Linked DNA regions of Homo sapiens: region 2 is linked to region 1. Evidence: promoter capture Hi-C in human tissues and cell types (Jung and others, 2019). All regions are on one chromosome and are shown on one strand. The core of a region is centred on a gene start or on the middle of the fragment in contact, and the rest is flanking DNA. Distances in the headings are between cores, read along the strand shown. Region 1 holds the start of EGFL7 (EGF like domain multiple 7). Region 2 overlaps SEC16A (SEC16 homolog A, endoplasmic reticulum export factor).

Region 1 (7,555 bases), core at 2,193-4,692:
CACCCGCGAGAGGCCGGGTCCGCAGAGGGAGGGGCCTGGCTGCGCCGCAGGCACTGGCGGACCCCTCGCGGCGGGAGCAGGGCTGGGGACCGCGGGGCCCACGAGGGAGGGCGCAGAGGCGGAGCGAGACGGACCTGCCCGCCGCCCCCTCCCAGCCGCGCTGCTGGCTCCGGGGTTCGCGGGGGGCGGAGCAGGCGGCACAGGCTGGGCCCCGAGGCGCTGAGTCGCGCCGGGTCGGACGAGGGGCCGCGGCGACCCCGGCCCTCCCCGCCGCGCCGCCCGCCCGCCCGCCGCCGGCAGGGGGAGCCGGTTCCCGGGGCCGCTGGGCCCATTCTCCCGGCCCGGCCCGACCCAGCCGCGGGCGCCCCGGCCCGCTCCGCCCCCGGCCCCAGCGGTCGCGCTGCCTCGTCCCGGAGCCGCCCCCAGCTCCGCGCGCGGCCAGGTTCCCCGCCCCCGGGGGCTCCGCGGGTCCCGCCCTCGACCCAGCCCGGGCGGCGACCGGACCCCGACCCCGGCGCGCCCCGCTCGCTCCGCACTCACCGCCGGATCCGGGGCGCGCACGCGCCGCCGCCACTGCCGCCCGAGCCCGCGCCGTGGGGGCCCCGAGCCCCGCCCCGCCCCGCCCCCGGCCCCGCCCCACCTGGCGGCCCCGCCCCGCCCCCATTGCGCAGACGGGGAAACTGAGGCCCCGCGGCGGACGAGCTGCCCCCGGGCGGGCAGTGACTCTGCTGGAACCCGGGGCTGACGCAAACGCGCCTCTGAGCCGCGGCCCGCCAGCACCCCCTCCGGGAATCCTGGGGCCCGAGTCCCCGCGGCAGGGCGCTCGCTGCGCGGTCGCTGGGGACGCACGACCAAGCCCGGCCGCCAGGAGCCAGGAGAGGCCGCCCAGGGCGCCCACACTGACGGGGCTGCGGGCCCTTTGCTAGCTTTCAAGCCCCCCAGGCTGAAAACCACCCCGGGACGCCCATCTCAGCCGCTGGGGGGCCGCGCGGTAGGCGCCCGGCGCAGGTTAGCACTGAGCTGGGTCCTGCAGCCTCGCAGGCAGTGGGCATCATGACCGTCCCCACCGCAGGCCCAGAGACCCAGATCTCCTCTGAGACCACATGGCAGAGCCCAGGCCTGCCTCCTAGCCTTAGCGTGTTAGGTTGGGGGCCCCTGCGCCGGCCCCCACCTGGCCCTCTCTCAGGCATCAGGCACCCTCACCGGGGTCACTGGGTCACTGCTGAGTTCAGCACAGTCAGGGCCATCGCAGAACACTCCTCCCAGCGAATCCACAGGCCCCCAGAGAGTCTCCTCACACCAGAGGTCCCTGGGCTGGTCACCTCTCTTCTCCAGGCCTCCATTTCCAAATTTATAAGATGGGGCTAAACAGCCCTGGGATCTAGTGACGGTGAGGTCGTGGCCACACAACAATTGTTACAGCTGTTACTGCGGGCGCGGCACGTGGGGCTCGGGCCAGCCCAATTCAGCAGCCCCTCAGACCCCAGCCGGAGCCAGCGCCCTGTGTCATAACCCGCGTGGGCGCCGGTGTGAGAAGTGTTCCCTCGGAGCAAGGGGTTTGCTGGGACTCACCTGGCGGAGGAGAATCAGTCATCCCCCGGACAGGGGCAGGAGCTGCTCCTCCGGGTGGTGGGGGCCACCTGTGCCTCCCCGGTCCTGGGGGCTGCTGGTTGGAGAGGAGTTGTGGGTTAGTGCCTATGCACAGTCCTGGTCACCCTGATGTCTGGGGGCTGGGAAGGGGCCCGGGACCAGCTTTCGGTGCTGCTGTGGGACCTCCGCCTGCACTAGGCCTACAGGCCCCTGTCCTGCACCTACCCCGACCCCATCCTGTCCTGAGCTGATTGTCCTCTCGGATCCGCAGCCCCTGGCCTCAGTAAAATGGGGTTATTGCCTCCAGCCCTGGACTCCCTGGCATGGGGATGGGAGGCTGCTGTGAGTGGAGCTGGAGGTCTCTCCATGTAACCCAGGGTGCTGGGCAAGGGGCCTGCAGATGGGTCCGAGAGGGCCACCAGCTTGGTCCTACCTTGGTGCATGGGAGCTGGAGGAAGGGAGGGGCCCAGGTCCCTGGAGAGGAGTCCCCAAAATGAGGCCGCCCCACCCTGCAATCCAGTGGCCACTGCTCTGGACCAGGGGCCCTGGAAGCCCCTGGCACGTGGTCCAAGGGACGACCAGAGCAGCTGCTGTCAGGGGGCGTTCCTCATCTGACTGGGGAGTCCTAGGCCTCCTGGCGCCCTGAGCCCACGCAGGGCAGCTCTTACCTAGCCCCCAGCAGTGAAGTGTTCAGAGTGGGGCCTAGGGGGCCTCTGGGTGGGAGAGCCACCGCCACCCTCCCTGTCCCCTGCCCCTGGCCTCATCTCTGGATCTGCGGTCACTTAACCCTTTGACCTGCCTCCCCACCTCTCCTGCCTGAGTCTGGAAGAGGCGATGGAGCAGAAAGGGCAGCTCCAGGGCTGCCCCGACTCAGCCCTCGCTGCCCCCATCCTGGCTAGGCACCATTTGGAAAGTGGGGGTTCTCAGACAGGCTTCTTGGTGTGGACGTATGAGACAAAAAGTGGGGCCTTCTAGGACCCACTGTGGTTTTGGGGGCTTTGGGATGGGGCTTCAGCCACTCTGCATGAGGCTGGGGAGAGGGAGAACAAGGGCGTCTCCAGGGTCCAAGGGGGGCCCACAGAGTCACCCATTTGCCCACCGCACCCAGCAAGTCATCCCTAAGCCCGAGCCCCACGTCCCGCACCCTGGATTCACACTGCTCATCCTGGCTACAGATGTGGCTTTGGGGTTCCTCTCCCTCGGGGCCAGTTCCCCTCCCCGGGCCCCCGTTGGGTTGCTCATCCACTGCTAGGGAGAAGATGAGGAGACCTCAGCCCTCGGGACACCGCAGGGCGTAGCGCGAAGCCCCTCACAGCGGGCCCAGCCAAGCTGAACTTTGCTGCCAACCACAGGGGCTGCTCTGCGGAGGGAGAGAAAGGCCAGAGGGTGGGGTTCAGGGGAAGGGCGACTGGGGGTGAAGTGTTGGAGTCAGCAGACTGGATTGGGATCTACGCTGGGCCACCCACTAGCAGGCGTTTGGCCAAGGGGCCTCAGTGGCCTCCTCTGTGCAGAAGGGGAGGAGACTGGGACCCCTCCCCTGTGACCTCGCTGGGGAGCAGATTGCGGAGCAGCCAGCAGGCGCCACGGTCAGCGGGAGTGAGGGGAATGGGGGGCCCGCCCTGTCCGCTCCCTGCCCCTCCGAGGCCACCCCTGCCATACCTGATGCTGCTGGAGCCCAGGCGTGGCCATGGTGGCCGCTGCTGTGTCCTGGGACTGGAGATGGACCCTAGCCCTTGCTGGGGCCTCAGGCCCACTGGCCGCCTGGAGGCACCTCCTGAGGCCCACCTGCCTGGCCTGTCCACAGGAGCCTCCCTTGCAGCCGTGCAGGGCCAGCTTGGTGCAGGGAGGCTCCCCCCGGGCGAGGAAGGGCGGCTTTTTATGCTCCGTCCTGGGTAATCGGGATTGGGATGGGCCCTTCCCAGCCGGACTTCCTGTGTGTGTTCTCCGCTGATAACGGGGACGTGTCGTCGGACAAACAGGAGGCTGAGGGGGGTGGGGGCCACCGTGTGAGGGGGCCTGGACAAACTGCCCAGGGGTGGGGAAGCCGTCCCCTGGGCCATCAGAGTCTAGCCCCAAAACAGCCAGAAACCAGGGCTGGACCCTGCTGGAGACCCTGGGGAGAGTGTGGGGTGGAGGACGCAAGCCCAGGGCCCTCCCAGGACCGTGGGTTCACAGGCCATGCTCACGTGTGGCTGGACAGAAGGGAGCTGCTGCATCTTTGGGCCAAGGATGCTGGGCCCTCCCCCAGGACACCCCCAGATGTGTGTGACACAGCACGGGAGCTTGGAGGGGCCCCAGGCCAAGGCAGGGACCAGCCACACAGGAGCCTTGACCAGTGAGGGATGGCGAGTGGCGAGGCCCGGCAGGAAGGGACTGGGGTGGCAAGACAGGCTGAGCGGTCCGAGAACAGCCTGTTCCGTGGGTCCCTGAGGCCCATGGTGAGGGGGTGACGGGAGGGGACAAGCATGGAGTCCAAGCTCTCTCCCCTAAAAGAGCTGCCAGTGAGGCTGTGAGCCCCTGCCCTGGAGATGGGCAAGCAGGCCCAATGCCCTCAGCCCCACTTCACAGGGGTGCTCTGGGCTGGCAGCAGGCTGCGGCCGGGGGTGTGGGGAGGGATGCGGGACACTGTGGGTGATCACAGGGGGTGCTCTGTCAGATTCCCGGCGTCCCAGCCTCCAGGTCTGACCCTCATCTTCCCTGTTCACACGGCAGTGGGAGCCTCAGGCCGAGCGAGCCACTGTGGCAAAGGTGGGCTGGGTGGGAGGGGACACGGTGCCGAAGGGAGCTGGGTGGCTTTGGAGGGCACGCCTGGAACCCCAGGAGAGCAGGGCCTCTCCCAACCCCGCTGTCCGTGGGGTGTGAGCCCTGCTTTGGGGTCAGCCCCTGTCGGCCTGATGCCTGGGACACCCCCATTTCCCTGGCCCTGGGCGGTCAGTGTGCCCCCACCTCTCCAGCCCCACTCAGCTGGGCAACTTGAGCCAAGGGAGGCTGGGGCAGCTGGGGAAATTCCCCACGGGACTTTGGAGGGCAGGTGGAAACCTCACCCACACGCGATGCGCCTCCCCCTCAAGCAGGAACCAGCTCCCCTCTACCCACGGCCAGGGGAAGGGTCTGCTCTGGGCGCCAGGCTGTGGTCAGGGCTCAGGGCCTCAGCCAGGCAGGACCTCACTCTTCTCCGGGCCTGTTTCTGCACCTGCTTCATGGTCACTGAGCTGGTTTAAGGGGGCGCTCCTGGCACCCAGGCACCGCTGGTCTGAGCGGGAGGGGCCTCTTTCCAGAGGTGGCCCCTGCCCTGAGGTTGGAGCAGATAGGCAGAACCCCATTTCCCCACCTCCTCCACACTAGGCCACCCTGGGATCTGGCCCTTACCCTACTGGCTGCACCCTCAGCCGCCCTGTGCCTCCCTCGGCCCCCTGGCTCTCCCACCCAGGGGCTCATCCTGCCCTGGCCAGCCTGTCCCTCCAGCTGTCAGGAGGGGGTTGCAGTGAAGAACAAGTTGGCAGCAGGCCGGGCCCAGTCCCCCAGGCTGTCACCCAGGAGTCCAGTGCCAGGAGGACAGCCTGGGGAGGACCCAGACTCTGCCCTCGCCCCTGGCTGTAAGCACAGCAGTCAGTTCACCGGGAAGGCCCCCAGCGGGCCAAGCCTTAGCAACTCGTGCACTCGGCTACTTAGCTACTCCACCGTATAGGGGCCCAGTAGGCTTGTGCCCCCATCCCAGGAGGTGCCCTCTTGCCCTCTGCCTGCATCCCTGCGGCCTGCCCCCTCCTCCCCCACCTGCATGCCCCTGGATCTGCCCTGGCCTCCTGGTGGAAGGACCCACAAGCATGGGGTGGGCTAGATCCAGCCCTTTCTGTGTACAGAGGGGGAAACTGAGGCCCAGAGGGAGAAGTGACCGGCCCAGGTGAGCCTGGAGGCCGGACAGGGCTGGGATGCTCGGCACAGGAGGCTGCCTCACCCTTCCTTCCTCTTCTTGGGGAGCCCCATGTCCCCCACCCCAGCTTGTCCTATGTCCCAACCTGGAGCAGCCCCTGTCATCAGACCTATCCGGCCAGGGGACAGCTCGGGGCAGGAATAGCTAAGTAGCCGAGTGCACGAGTTGCTAAGGCTTGGCCCGCTGGGGGCCTTCCCGGTGAACTGACTGCTGTGCTTACAGGCAAGGGGCGAGGGCAGAGTCTGCGTCCTCCCCAGGCTGTCCTCCTGGCACTGGACTCCTGGGTGACAGCCTGGGGGGCTGGGCACCGCCTGCTGCCAACTTGTTCTTCACTGCAACCCCCTCCTGATAAGCTCTGCCCTGCCCCCAGCCCCTCCCCAGGCCAAGACTAGACCCTCCCCAAGGGAAGGAGGCCTGGGCTCAGGCCCAGAGTGCCAGCTTTGCCCTATCCCATAGCCTGGAGCCACCACAGGAGGGGCACTCCACTCTCTTGGGCTCCTGGAGCCTCAGAGGCAGGTACAGGAGGTGGGCTGCGGCCTTGCCCTAATGTCGGGGGCCCAGCGGGGACAGGAGGGGCGGGGGGTTGGCAGGGGACAGACATGGGTTCTTGGACGCCAGAGGGTACTGGGGGTCCAGGGGGTTGGGGCTGCCCCCGGGTTCTGGTATGGGTGGAGCACACTCTGTGCCCAAGGCCCAGGGGCTCAGCAAGGGGCAGGCGGGCCCCTCCCTCACCCTCCGGTCCTTGGAGGTGCCCCCTTCCCTGCCCTGGCCGCTCTGGTGGTGTGTGTTTGGGATCATGGCACAGACCTTCAGCAGGGAATCATTTTGGGAGTCAGCAGTGCCTCCTGCCCAGGCTCCAGCCCCACAGAAGCCAGGCCGGGCCCCACGCCTGGCCTCCTCCCCTCACCTCAGGGGCCCAGCACAGAGGGGGAGACCTGGTGGGAGAGTGTGGCCACCCCAAGGCCTGCGCCTGTCCTCATCTGGGCACTGGAAGGTCTGGAGCCCAGGGCTTCACCCTGCCTGGGGTGGTGTCAGAGGTGGAGGCCCGGCAGGGGCAGGAAGCTGGAGCTCTGGTCCCAGCTTTGTGCCCCACACAGGCCTCAGTTTCCCCATTGTCTCTCTTGTCAGCAGGGCCATGTTGTCCAGTGGCCTTCCAGCCACCTGGGAATGTTCTGAGGTTAGTTATAAGGGGAAGGGCTGCCTTACCTTCCCAGAGCGTGCTGGCTGGGCAGAGAGGCGTGGAGGGGCCTGGCAGAGCCCCCCGGGCCCTCCCGGGCCTCCCGGACCCCTCACCAGGGTGCTTTTGGCCTCTGAAGCCCCAGGAGAGGGCAGACTAAGCCCCTGGCAGAGGCCAGCCTGGGCATCTCAGGTGGCGCGAGACAGAGGGGCACCAGGCGCGGCCGCGGGAGCCGGGCTGCAGGAGGTGCAGGAGGAGGGAGTGAAGCAGAGTGCGGGAGGGATGGGGCTTCCTGTTTACCCCGAGCGCCCCCCGGCCTCGGACGGGCTGGCTCTGTCAGCCACGGATGTGGTGGAACCTTCCCATCAGAGGACGTCCCGGACCCGACGGGGGCTGGAGGGAGCTGCCAGGCAGGGGTGCCTGCGGGCAGAGGAGCCGTCTGCTCCCGAGCGAGGGTTTGGGCAGGGAGAAGTGAGGGTCCCCAGCCTTTCCTCTCACCTCTCCCTGCCTGCTCCGGCCCCTGACCCACGTCCCAGAGCGACACCCTCTGAGTTGAGGGGCTTCCATTTTCAGAGGAGGCAGCTGGCTCACAGGTGGAAGCCGCTTGTTCAAGGGTGGAAAACGGAGGCCCAGGACTGGAGTCCGGGCGCCTGAGCCTCGGGGGTCGCCCGGGGGACCCCTCGCCCTTCCCCTGGCCGCTCCCGTCTCCCTTCCTGGGGCTGCCCACTGCTCCAGCTGATGGCGTGGAGGAGTCCATGGCCTTGTGGGCTGGCTTCTTGGCAGGTCCCCACCGGCTTTGCATCTGAGTGTCCCCTTCTCCTGACATTGCCCCTACCCTGGTCCGGTCCACCCCGCTT
Region 2 (7,555 bases), core at 2,199-4,698, 210 kb after region 1:
AAAGTGCTGGGATTAAGGTGTGAACCACTGCACCTGGCCATCTCTTTTTTTTTTTTTTTTTTTTTTTTTTTTTGAGATGGAGTTTCTCTCTGTCGCCCAGCCTGGAGTGCAGTGGTGCGATCTTGGCTCACTGCATCCTCTGCCTCCCAGGTTTAAGCAATTCTCTGCCTCAGCCTCCTGAGTAGCTGGGACTACAGGCGCCCACCACCACACCCAGCTCATTTTTTTTTGTATTTTTAGTAGAGATGGGGTTTCACCATCTTGGCCAGGCTGATCTTGAACTCCTGACCTCATGATCCACCTGCCTCAGCCTCCCAAAGTGCTGGGATTACAGGCATGAGCCACCCCGCCCAGCCCGGCCGTCTCTTTTTCTACAGTAGAATTTCTTTTCTAATTTTTTGATCTCACAAGAGGATGTCCTGGAATTCAGTAGAATTTCTAACATTGTCACTGGTTTTCCTGAAAGTGAGATTTATCTCATTAGACATGTTTGGTATAAATACCTCCTCTGTTTGCTCTACTCCTAACCAGGAGGGATGGTTGCTTTTATACAGACCGCATTCTGGAACCTTCTTTACAGATACCCAGCCCTTCACGGGCATCCCATCAGTAGGCGATTGCTATAGTTTGAACTTGCATTAGGTGTTTTACCCTTTAAAATACTGTGTCCCTGGAAAAGTAAAAATGAGGGTTGAGCTATTAAAAATTGGGACTTGACCCAGGAATAAATATTTTTAAAAATCATTGTATCTTTGAGAACACCCATCGCCCCCCTCTGGCCAGTCTTCCCTCAGTGCATGCTCACACTCCGTTTCTTCCAGCCCGGAATCTCCATCGAACGCCCTCATTTGCATTCTGAGTGCTGAGTGCTCCCAGACGGAGCTGCTTATTAAGTGCGGCTGGCTCTTCTCTAGTCAGGCCAGGTAGAGGCTCTGGGAGGCCCAGTCAGGGGGCTGCTCTCCCCAGCCCCCTTCCTGCCTCCCTCTGGTCACCAGAGTCATCCGGCCTCTCAGTGATGTATTTAGGAAACACGCCTGGGGAATTGCATCCCCCTCTCTCTTTCGGTTCCTGTGAGGAGCCCCAGGAGAGCCTGTTCTGCATTTCCTTGCGACAGACCCCCTCGAGGACGGTGCCAGACTCGGAGGCCCCCCCAGGGTGGGATCGTGCCGACTCGGGTCCCACGCAGCCACCTCTGTCTCTCTCACCCGCTCCCGAAACAAAGAGACCCGGACAGGCAGCCAAGAAAGAAACGAAGGAACCTAAGAAGGTAGTACAGCCTGCCCACGGTGCGCCTGGCGGCCGGGAGGGTTTGGGCAGGAGGCACGCTTCCCAGAGCGCCATCCTCTTAATTCACCACACATGCAAATAGCCTCCTGATACAAACAGCCGAGTGTCTACAGTGCACACGGCATGATGGGTGTCTGTGTATTTGTGCCTTCAGATAATAGGATAATAGCCCACCCAGGTCAGCATGGGGACACAGCCCGGCCCCCAGAGGTCGCCTCTGGCCACTACCTGTCAGACCCACCCGCAAGGGACCAGACGGCAGCCGCTGCTTTGTCACTGTGGTGTGTGCCTGCTGCCGGCTCACAGATCCTTTCTCCCAGCCGTGGACTTTGGGACTGCTTTCAGTGTGGGGCTGGGATCCGTCAGGCCCCAGGAGCCTCCTTGCCTATCTATTGGCGAATGCGCTTGTTTTTCTTAGGTGCGTGCCAAGGAGCTGAGGGTTTAGCTCGCAGGATGAGCGTGTGTTCAGCTTTAGGAGACACTGCTGAGCAGTTGTCCTAAATGGTTGGTTGCCCCAAGTCACACATCCTGCAGCAGAGGACAAGGGCCCTGGATATCCCTCATCTTCACCAATACTGGGCAGTGCCGGTTCTTTAACTTAGCCATTGTGCTGGGGCTGATGACATCTCATTGTGTCTTCCTCTGCATCTCCACAGCGAGGTGTGACGCTGGGCACCTTCTCGTGTCCCTGTTACCATCTCACCACTCTTTTGGGGCAGTGCTTGTTCAAGTCTCTATCCGTTGTTTTTTTTTTCCCCCATAAAGATGGGGTCTCACTATTGCCCAGGCTGGTCTCAAACTCCTGGGCCCAAGTGATCCTCCTGCCTCGTAGCTGGGACTGCAGGTGTAGCCACCACACCTGGCTTTCCTTTCCATTTTTAATGGTGTTCTCTTCAGGACTTGCAGGAGTCCTTTCTGTATTATGGATATAAGTCCTCTGTTAGGTGTATTTATTGTGATATCTTCTCCCAATCTGTAGATTGCCTTTTTACTTGTAATGGTTTTTTGTTTGTTTGTTTGTTTGTTTGTTTTGAGACAGGGTCTCACTCTGTCAGCCAGGCTGGAGTGCATTGGCATGATCTTGGCTCACTGCAACCTCCGCCTCCCAGGTTCAAGCAATTCTCCTGCCTCAGCCTCTCCAGTAGCTGGGATTACAGGTGCCCACCCCACTCCCAGCTAATTTTTTGTATTTTTAGTAGAGATGGGGTTTCACCATGTTGGCCAGGCTGGTCTCAAACTCCTGACCTCAAGTGATCTGCCTGCCTTGGCCTCCCAAAGTACTGGGATTACAGGTGTGAGCCACCATGCCCGGCCTAGTAATGGTATTTTATGAAAAATATCATTCTTCATTTTAATAAAGTTCAGTGATCAGATTTTTCTTTTATGGCTGCTGTCTTGAAAATAAACACACATTTAATTCCAAATTTGTGTGAGCTCTGAGATAAAACATGATACTTGAGCAGGTTTCCAGTGCATAGGCTATCACAGGCCTCCCCGGGACAGCTTGTCTGGCCAGTAGAACTCACAGAGAAACAGAATTGAGGGTGTGTAGTAGCTGCTGAGGCTTCTCCTCTTTCTTCAGTAGAAGTGAAGTGCATCAGGCCGGGCATGGCGGCTCACACCTGTCACCCCAGCACTCTGGGAGGCCGGGCGCAGCAGCTCCTGCCTGTCACCCCAGCATTCTGGGAGTCAGGGTGCGGCGGCTCACGCCTGTCACCCCAGCACTCTGGGATGCTGAGGCGAGCAGATCATGAGGTCAGGAGTTCACGATCAGCGTGGCCAAGATGGTGAAACCCCATCTCTACTAAAAATACAAAAATTAGCCATGCATGGTGGTGGGTGCCTGTAATCCCAGCTACTCAGGAGGTTGAGGCATAGAACTACTTGAACCCGGGAGGCAGAGGTTGCAGTGCGCCGAGATCGCGCCATTGCACTCCAGCCTGGGGGACAGAGCGAGACTCTGTCTCAGAAAACTAACAAACCAAAATGAAGTGCATCATGTGAAGAATAAAGTAAAGTTTCCTAATAACCGAATTCTCCACACATGGGAAACACAGAGGGCTGTATCTGCCTCCGACACACACTGACTTGGACAGCCCGCCTTCCACTTCTCAAAGGGGAGGACGTCGGAAGCTTTGTCAGTGTTTAGACGTAAAAAGTTCCTGAAGGCACGTTACTGTTCTGACCTATTTAAATGACAGTAAAATACACAGAACAAAATGCACATTTTTACCATTTTCTGAGTGCACAGTTCTGTGGCACCAAGTACATTCACACTGTTGTGTTGCCATCACCACCATCCATCTCCAGAACTGTCTCACCTTCCCAAACAGAAACTCTGTCTCCTTGAAACGAAACAACTCCCGGTTCCCTCCCACCTCCATCCTCCTGGTGTCTCTGGATCTGCTTCCCACCTCCATCCTCCTGGTGTCTCTGTGGATCTGCTCCCCACCTCCATCCTCCTGGTGTCTCTGTGGATCTGCCCCCCACCTCCATCCTCCTGGTGTCTCTGTGGATCTGCCCCCGACCTCCATTCTCCTGGTGTCTCTGGATCTGCTCCCCACCTCCATCCTCCTGGTGTCTCTGTGGATCTGCTCCCCACCTCCATCCTCCTGGTGTGTCTGGATCTGCTCCCCACCTCCATCCTGGTGTCTCTATGGATCTGCTCCCCACCTCCATCCTCCTGGCGTCTCTGTGGATCTGCTCCCACCTCCATCCTCCTGGTGTCTCTGTGGATCTGCCCCCCACCTCCATCCTCCTGGTGTCTCTGTGGATCTGCTCCCACCTCCATCCTCCTGGTGTCTCTGTGGATCGCCCCCCACCTCCATCCTCCTGGTGTCTCTGTGGATCGCCCCCCACCTCCATCCTCCTGGTGTCTCTGTGGATCTGCTCCCCACCTCCATCCTCCTGGTGTCTCTGTGGATCTGCTCCCACCTCCATTCTCCTGGTGTCTCTGTGGATCTGGCGACTCTGGGGCCTCACAGAAGTGGGTCATGTAGAATTTGTCTTTTTGCCCTGGCTTATTTCATGGAACATAATGTTTTCAAAGTTGTTCTCGTGTTTTTTATATTTAGGGTGAATCCTGGTTCTTTCGTTGGCTACCTGGAAAGAAAAAGACAGAAGCTTATTTGCCAGATGACAAGAACAAATCGGTGAGTGCTGTCAAATACGCACGGGACGTCCGAAGAATTGTAATGATTTTTCTGTCACTTTCAGAGCAGACCTGAGTAGGTGTTTCCTGAAGTTTTGAAGTGTCATCATTAATCAGATGCTAATTCTGTTTAGGTTCAGTCTGCTGACCTTTTTTCTTTTTAAAATCTTGGCAGATTGTTTGGGATGAAAAGAAAAACCAGTGGGTGAATTTAAATGAGCCAGAAGAGGAGGTAAATTGTCATTCTAGTTCCTGTTGGGTGTGAGGTGTGAGTGGAGGGAACAGCCTCATGTGGCCCTGTGATATTTGGGTGGCTGTTGCCCCTTTTGGAGCCTCCTGACTGTGCCATCCCAGTGGGTTTCTGTGCACACAGTGGGTGTCTGAAGCTGTGTTTCCCTCTGCAGAAGAAAGCCCCGCCCCCACCTCCAACCTCGATGCCCAAGACTGTGCAAGCTGCCCCGCCTGCCCTCCCAGGGCCTCCTGGAGCCCCCGTGAACATGTACTCTAGAAGAGCAGGTAAGGGTGGCCTTGGAGTGGGAGCTTGCTTGAACGATTAACTGTCCCAGAGAGAGAGGCCAATGTGTAGCTGTTGTGCGTGGGGAGGAGGTGGCTTCCCGCACGTCCCTGCGTGCTTTTCCTCTGACGCAGTGAGCGCAGAGCATTTGGAAGCTGGAGGCCACCTGGCGCGTTCACCTCAATTTGCTTCCCTCCCCTTTGCAGCAGGAACCAGAGCTCGCTACGTTGACGTCCTGAACCCAAGCGGGACCCAGCGGAGCGAGCCGGCTCTCGCTCCTGCGGACTTTGTCGCTCCACTCGCGCCACTCCCAATTCCTTCTAACTTGTTCGTGCCAACCCCAGGTAGGTAGCACGAGCACCAGCCCCTCCAGGTCAGCCCCCAGTCTCCTGACCTTTGATCCTCTTTCTATGAGTCTCTCCTAAATCTCCCGTTAAAAGAATGACCTGGCCAGCATGCAGAGAGCCTGGGGTTGGTTTGTGGTTTTTTTTTTGATTTGCCTGTTTCTGCATGAGTGTGCCGCGTGTGCAGTGTGAAACTCTCTTCCTCTCGGAGTGTCTTCAGTGAGACCCCAGGGACGTTCGGGACGGAATGATGGCCTCCTCGCTCTCTCATCCCCAGATGCAGAAGAACCACAGCTTCCAGACGGGACTGGCAGGGAAGGGCCTGCAGCAGCTAGGGGCCTGGCCAATCCAGAGCCTGCCCCAGAGCCCAAGGTGAGCGGGTACGGTGGGAAAGGGGAAAGGTACCCAGTGAGGAGGCACCTCCCCATCCTGCCAGACAGGGCCTTGCCTTCTGCAAGTCAGTATCCAATGTGTACGTAGAGTGTTCCGCCTTAAACGCCTCACACTTATGTATGGTAGAGACGGAAGGTAGAATGCAGGGTGCCGGGCGGGACAGAGCTGTTTGGGAAGACGGAGATCTGGGGATAGTGGCGGTGATGGTTGCTCAGCACGGTGAATGTGCTTAAAACTTAAAAATGATTAAAGTGGCAAATTTTACAGTATGTATATTTTACAATTTTTAAAATTGGAAAAAGTAAAATTAATTACTCTAAGTTACAGAGAAATTACCTACCGATAATAAAAGTTAAGTATATTTTCATCCAAAAAAAAAAAACAAAAAACAAATGACTCCCATGTGAAGTAGAACAGCTCAGACCAGTCGGGAGTGGTGGATGATGCCTGTAATCCCAGCTCTTTGGGAGGCTGAGCTGGGCGGGTCACCTGAGGTCAGGAGTTCGAGACCAGCCTGGCCAACATGGTGAAACCCCATCTCTACTAAAAAAAAAACAAAATTTACCTGGGTGTGGTGGCGGGTGCCTGTAATCCCAGCTACTCAGAAGGCTGAGGCAGAAGAATCGCTTGGACCCAGGAGGCAGAGGTTGCAGTGAGCTGAGATTGCGCCATTGCACTCCATCCCGGGCAACAGAGCCAGACTCCATCTCAAAAAAAAAAAAAAAAAAACCAGCTCAGACTGCACTCTGTACGGTGGGACAGGCCTGGGCCTAATCCTGTTCTCCATTCATCAGCTGTGTAAAGCATGGGGCAGTCACTCACCTGTCTAAGCCTCAGTTTTCCCCTCTGTAAAATGGGAATAACAGTAGCCCCAGATTGCAAGCCTGTCATGGGCACACACAGGCACCTGGTAGAGAGCTGCAGGGGTCTAGAGTCAACAGGGTTGTGCGGCTGGACCCACGTGTGAGGCACTTTTCACTTCTCTCTGAGGAGCACTTTACGTGGAAGAGGGCGTTTGTAACCCAGGCCAGAACAGTTTCATATTTTTTGGCCTGGTGTGAGAGACTTAAATTCCCTGGGATTTGGTTGCTGCAATTCTTCTTTTCCTCGGCAGGTTTTAAGCTCTGCAGCGTCACTCCCTGGCTCTGAACTCCCCTCCTCCAGGCCTGAGGGTTCCCAGGGAGGAGAGGTAAGGAGTGCCGACGCCAGGGCCCCCCGCAGCCCAGGCCTCCCCAGCAGCTCACTGTCCAGGCGCCTCTTCCTTTATGGAGGGGCGGTACTGGGTAGGAAGAGGCAGTTTAGAAACAAGAGCACCTCGAAGGTGGTGTTCCTGGGGGAAAAAAAATTGCACTTGTTTTAACAAAACTGTTTGGGAGCTCCAGGAGGGGTGCAGGGGGTTTGAGTTGTCGCCTCAGTCCCGGTCCTCTCCCTTCAACAGCACGGGAATTGTCTTGAATTGTGAGGTGTCAGGAGGTGAAGCTGGCTTAGGCCGAGGCTGGACTTTTCCTCCCAGCCCTCCCCTAAGCTAATGGTTGTTTCGGGATAACAGCTTTACATTAAGACAGGAATCTTAAGCTAACACTGGCTTTTTTTTCCCTTTTGAGTTATGTTGATTCTAATGGCATCACAAAGCTTTTGAAATGGAACTGACAGCTTGGATTGGACAGTGACGTGCATGTTGACTTTCGTCCGTGTTTTATGTGTGTTCTTGCTGTTTTGTAGCTTTCGCGCTGTAGTTCAATGAGTTCATTATCACGTGAAGTGAGCCAGCATTTTAATCAGGTACCTGCGGCTGGTGGTCCTCACTAACATGAGAGCTGGCGTGTGCCGCCTGTGTTCCTGAGCACGCGGTGCCGGTTCGCCACG

The links. The method cuts DNA at HindIII sites, captures the fragments that hold promoters and counts their contacts. A contact is called where the count stands out against the background at its distance.
Region 2: a contact is called between a fragment that was not itself captured here and the fragment with the promoter of EGFL7 in region 1, in 1 of the 25 tissues and cell types used here (dorsolateral prefrontal cortex).

Annotation. Positions count from the first base shown.
Region 1 is chr9:136,658,803-136,666,357 of GRCh38, reverse strand. It overlaps EGFL7 (EGF like domain multiple 7), which reads right to left and starts at 3,442. Exons shown (of 11, transcript NM_016215.5): 1 at 3,250-3,442; 2 at 2,735-2,950; 3 at 1,573-1,666. It overlaps LNCEGFL7OS (lncRNA EGFL7 opposite strand), which reads left to right and starts at 5,937. Exons shown (of 2, transcript NR_135132.1): 1 at 5,937-6,037. The HindIII fragment of the contact is 17,984 bases long and covers 1-7,555 here.
Region 2 is chr9:136,444,968-136,452,522 of GRCh38, reverse strand. It overlaps SEC16A (SEC16 homolog A, endoplasmic reticulum export factor), which reads left to right. Exons shown (of 32, transcript NM_014866.2): 23 at 1,115-1,267; 24 at 4,362-4,439; 25 at 4,614-4,670; 26 at 4,843-4,954; 27 at 5,159-5,296; 28 at 5,574-5,668; 29 at 6,804-6,878; 30 at 7,412-7,471. Among named protein-coding and RNA genes, the nearest start is that of INPP5E, 8.9 kb to the right of the region's middle. RefSeq lists an enhancer at 3,677-4,876. The HindIII fragment of the contact is 4,836 bases long and covers 1,031-5,866 here.